Linked DNA regions of Homo sapiens: region 1 is linked to region 2. Evidence: promoter capture Hi-C in human tissues and cell types (Jung and others, 2019). All regions are on one chromosome and are shown on one strand. The core of a region is centred on a gene start or on the middle of the fragment in contact, and the rest is flanking DNA. Distances in the headings are between cores, read along the strand shown.

Region 1 (2,700 bases), core at 87-2,586, 280 kb after region 2:
CACTGCACTCCAGCTCCAGCCTCGGCGACAGAGCAAGACTCTGTCTAAAAAAAAAAAAAAAGAAGGCTGATGTAAATGAATGAATGAACCAACTAATTCATTGGTGCCCCACCCCTTGAGAATAGATGTCAGGAAACTGCCAAATTATTTAAAAGTGTAAATTAAGAAAATTCAAGATTCTCTTTTGGTTTAGACAGAAGGTTCTGGGGATGCCCAGAAGTAGGTGAACCTTGTTCTGAATTTAAAAGAAGACTCTGTAGGAAAAAGATTTAGCCCTTTGCTCAGCATGCAGTAAGCAAACTTCGAGGATTAGCTCCCTTTGCTTCTGTCACCTGCCACTTCCAGAACATGAAAGAACTTCCCTGCCCCACAGCTGCAGGTATCCCCATCATTCAATAGCGTGTGACCATCAAGTGCAGAAACTCACAGAAGAAACTTGACGTCAATCCCCAAGAAGCTTCCTTACTCATGAGCTAAATGGGTTTCAGCAAATTGTTGTACTTTTTTTTTGCCTCAAGTGTCTCATCGGTAAAATGGGAATTGAAATAGGTGTCTCTTCACACTTGTGTGGTAAGGATAGGATGAGACAATGTGTGTTACTTACCACAGTGTCTGGCACAATCATGACAAGCATTCAATAAATGCTGAACATTATCATTATCCAGCACTTATGCTGCAAGGCTGCAATGGAATATATTAAAAGTGTCAAAAAGATAAATTTAATAAACAGTGTTTTTAATGCCCCCATTAGTATGGATTGGAAGATTAAATCTGTTCTAATTCCTGCTGTCTGGGTAATATGCCAGCCAGGAAACCTCAAATATAAAACTGCTTCATCTACCTTTCATATAAGAAGAAAAAGAAATCAATGCATTTTTGTTCTCCTCTCTTATCCTTGGCTTATTTATATGCCCAAATAAGGTTACTGTACAAAACACAATTGTGTGGTCTATAAATAATGAACTGCTTCTCCATGTAGTCAGCATCAGCAGAGAAAAGTTCTAAATGGATTTCCTTTGCCGGCATCATTTTCTGCCCTACATCTGACCGTCAACGTAAATACAGGCAGCCCTGGTTGGCATATAAAAGGCCCAATTGACCTGTTGACCCAGTTTGCAGAGACGGCTCCATGCACAACCACTTTAGCAGCTGCTGTAGAAAAACCTTTTGGCCACACAAGCCAAAAGCTGCTCGTTCATTCACTGCAATTACTCCTTGAGCCCCCAGTGCTCCCGGCACTGGACTCAGAGACATTCCTGCACCATGCTTTGAGACACCCACTTCAGTCTAGCACTGGTGGACTTGAGTCCTGCGTCTGTTATGGACAAAGAATAACAAAGGCTTTTTAGTCATTCCTAAGAGAAGTGGCTGGCCTGGTGCAATGGCTCACGCCAGAACTTTGGGAGGCCAAGGTGGGAGCCGAGGAGTTCAAGACCAGCCTGGCCAACACGATGAAACCCTGTCTCTACCAACAATACAAAAATTAGACGGGCTTTGTGGCGCATGCCTGTAATCCCAGCTACTCTGGAGGCTGAGGCATGAGAATTGCTTGAAGCTGGGAGGCAGAGGCTGCAGTGAGCCAAGACCACACCACTGCACTCCAGCCTAGGTGACAGAGTGAAATTCTATCTCAAAAAATAAATAAATAAATAAAAAATAGAGACAGAAGAGAGGGAGAGAAGTGGCTGACCGTCATGCGGCAAGATTTAGTGAGAAATTCTACCTTAATCCTCTTCAGGATCCAGCTTTTCCTAGTGAAGTAGCAGATCTTCTCTATTTAGCAAACTTCCATATCTTTTTTTCCTTTCTGTTGCCCTCATCTGCCGTATTATTCCAGCTGAGTAATATAGAAAGGCAAAGTGATTCTATAGGCGTGGTTATAACCTCACAGAAATAGGAGGCAGTGAAAGAATGGGGGCTGTGGGCTGGGGGCTGAGTCCCGAGGGTCACTGTAAAAAAGAGCATTTCACGCACACAACGTTGTCTTGTGGAGGCTGGCAGTCAGGTAGTCACAGCTTCTCTCTCTCCACTGCCATTGGAAATCAGAGTCCCATGGTCACTGAAAGAAATCATAGTCAGTCTTCCTTCTAACTTTTTCCAGTTGACAAACAGCCATCCCATGTTTTTATTTCATTTGATACATACGTCCCTCTGTCATGGGAACACTAAGAACTTGTGAGGAAAAATAGCTTACCCAAAGCCACAGGGTTAGTAAATAGCAAATCCATTAGTGAAAACTGTGTTTATCCATTCTGGAACCCTCCATACAGCATGGTGGTGGTTAGCTGTGTAGCCTGTAAAGCTGGCTTGCCAGGGGTCAAATCCAGGCTCTGCCCTCGGGCCTCCTCATCAGTACAATGGGCATGCCGCTAATAGTGCCCATCTCATAGGGTGACTGTGAAAATATTATAATAAAAGCAGTTCTGTAATACATGTGGTTGGCACACAGTGAGTGCCCATGAAGACTTCCAGGTTACGACCGCTATCTTTGCACCAGACTTTCCACTGAGGCAGAAGCTGCTACTTGTCCCCCTTCTTCCAATAATAAAATCCCAATTTTCCAGCCTTTCTGGCGGCAAGGTGTAAATACAAACTCAGGTTTGTCCAAAGGGATATAAATGGAAGTGAGGTAACTTCCAGGCACCATCCCATGGATGAGACAGCCCATCTCTCCACCCTCCTGCTGGCCCCTAAGCAACC
Region 2 (2,700 bases), core at 18-2,517:
CTGTCTTATTCTAAAGCCCCTTCTCTTTTCACAATCCCTTTAAGAAATGGACATCCAATATTTGAGTGGCAGAGGCAAAAACATGGCCTACCAGAACCATTATGATAGCTTTACAATATGCCCACCAATTATTTGATAGTCCTCCTGCCAAATGGTGAAGGCTAATTACCCTCCTACAGAATGTGACTCACTTCTAATGAATAAAATATGGCACAAGTAAAAGTGTGCGATTTCAGAGACTAGGTCATAAAGAACGCAGTGGCTTCTTCCCTGCTCTCTCTTTCTTAGGTCATTCTCTCTGGGTGAATCCAGCTGACATGTTGTGAGGACACTCAAGCAGCTTTATGGAAAAGCCCACATGGTGAGCAACTGAGGCCTCCTACCAACAGCCAACAAGAAACCGGGGCCTTTGCCAACAGCCAAGTAAGTGAGACATTTTGGAAAGTGGATCCTCCAGCCCCCGTTAGGCTCCCAGATGACAACATCCCCTGCTCTCATCTTGACCACAACCTCATGAAATACCCTTATCCAGGATACCCAGTTAAGCCACACCACAATTGCTATTTTACAAAACTGTGAGCTATGTGTTAGTTGTTTTTAAGCTATTAAGTTTTGAGGTGATCTATTACACAATGATAAACAACTAATACACCCATCCAGTGCTGAAGAAAGGGGTTGTCAGGAGGGTAGAATTTGCACTATTAAATCTTCATAGAGTGCTATTTCCCGTCACTACAGCACACTTGTCACCAACTATAAAGAATTAGGTCAGGGAATTTCTTTGGTTGCAGCCCATTTTGCCTTTGGTTGTTAATGGTAGAACCGTTTCCCCACAATCTGCAGGAAATAAGAATCAGAAAGAAGGACACACCATTCCATAGCACAGAACACAAGTAGATGGCTCCCATGAAGAATCTAGCATCATGGTATGGCAGAAGCAGAATGGACTCAGGAATCATGGTGCCTACACTGGAATTTCAGATCGGCCACTGACACAATGGACACATTATTCAACATTTCCAAATCTTGGCATTCTTATCCACAAAGTGAAGATAATAATTGTCAATTCACAGGTGATTATGATTTAAAGAGATTACTTTTGAAGAGTTCCTAACACATTCAGTCAACATTTAATGATGCTTCAGGCACTGTGTTCATTGCTAGTGAGCGTATGACACACACAGCCATACGGTCACAGAGCTTTCAATGAAAAGTAACATAATTGCTCATTTCACCAGGCCCCCGGCTTGGGGCGCCTTCCTTCCCCATGGCGGGACACCTGGCTTCGGATTTCGCCTTCTCGCCCCCTCCAGGCGGTGGGGGTGATGGGCCATGGGGGGCGGAGCCGGGCTGGGTTGATCCTCTGACCTGGCTAAGCTTCCAAGGCCCTCCTGGAGGGCCAGGAATCGGGCCGGGGGTTGGGCCAGGCTCTGAGGTGTGGGGGATTCCCCCTTGCCCCCCGCCGTATGAGTTATGTGGGGGGATGGCGTACTGTGGGCCTCAGGTTGGAGTGGGGCTAGTGCCCCAAGGCGGCTTGGAGACCTCTCAGCCTGAGAGCGAAGCAGGAGTCGGGGTGGAGAGCAACTCCAATGGGGCCTCCCCGGAACCCTGCACCGTCCCCCCTGGTGCCGTGAAGCTGGAGAAGGAGAAGCTAGAGCAAAACCCGGAGAAGTCCCAGGACATCAAAGCTCTGCAGAAAGAACTCGAGCAATTTGCCAAGCTCCTGAAGCAGAAGAGGATCACCCTGGGATATACACAGGCCGATGTGGGGCTCATCCTGGGGGTTCTATTTGGGAAGGTGTTCAGCCAAAAGACCATCTGCCGCTTTGAGGCTCTGCAGCTTAGCTTCAAGAACATGTGTAAGCTGCGGCCCTTGCTGCAGAAGTGGGTGGAGGAAGCTGACAACAATGAAAATCTTCAGGAGATATGCAAAGCAGAAACCCTCATGCAGGCCCGAAAGAGAAAGCGAACCAGTATCGAGAACCGAGTGAGAGGCAACCTGGAGAATTTGTTCCTGCAGTGCCCGAAACCCACACTGCAGATCAGCCACATCGCCCAGCAGCTTGGGCTCGAGAAGGATGTGGTCCGAGTGTGGTTCTGTAACCGGCGCCAGAAGGGCAAGCGATCAAGCAGCGACTATGCACAACGAGAGGATTTTGAGGCTGCTGGGTCTCCTTTCTCAGGGGGACCAGTGTCCTTTCCTCCGGCCCCAGGGCCCCATTTTGGTACCCCAGGCTATGGGAGCCCTCACTTCACTGCACTGTACTCCTCAGTCCCTTTCCCTGAGGGGGAAGTCTTTCCCCCAGTCTCCGTCATCACTCTGGGCTCTCCCATGCATTCAAACTGAGGTGCCTGCCCTTCTAGGAATGGGGAACAGGGGAGGGGAGGAGCTAGGGAAAGAGAACCTGGAGTTTGTGGCAGGGCTTTTGGGATTAAGTTCTTCATTCACTAAGGAAGGAATTGGGAACACTAAGGGTGGGGGCAGGGGAGTTTGGGGCAACTGGTTGGAGGGAAGGTGAAGTTCAATGATGCTCTTGATTTTAATCCCACATCATGTATCACTTTTTTCTTAAATAAAGAAGCCTGGGACACAGTAAAAAAAAAAAAAAAAGAAAGAAAAGAAAAGTAACATAATTGAGTAATAATTTTTTAAGTGTGGTAAAATGTGTGGCACGTAGTAGGTATTCAATAAATACTTGC

Evidence for each region. Contacts are between HindIII fragments. The study calls those that stand out against the background at their distance.
Region 1: a contact is called between a fragment that was not itself captured here and the fragment with the promoter of POU5F1B in region 2, in 1 of the 25 tissues and cell types used here (small bowel).

The regions. Positions count from the first base shown.
Region 1 is chr8:127,691,186-127,693,885 of GRCh38, forward strand. No RefSeq gene overlaps it. Among named protein-coding and RNA genes, the nearest start is that of CASC11, 41 kb to the right of the region's middle. The HindIII fragment of the contact is 9,197 bases long and covers 1-2,700 here.
Region 2 is chr8:127,414,600-127,417,299 of GRCh38, forward strand. POU5F1B (POU class 5 homeobox 1B) reads left to right here and starts at 1,268. Exons shown (of 1, transcript NM_001159542.3): 1 at 1,268-2,347. The coding sequence starts at 1,268. The coding sequence ends at 2,347. The region is part of intron 5 of CASC8 (cancer susceptibility 8); the gene reads right to left. The HindIII fragment of the contact is 11,415 bases long and covers 1-2,700 here.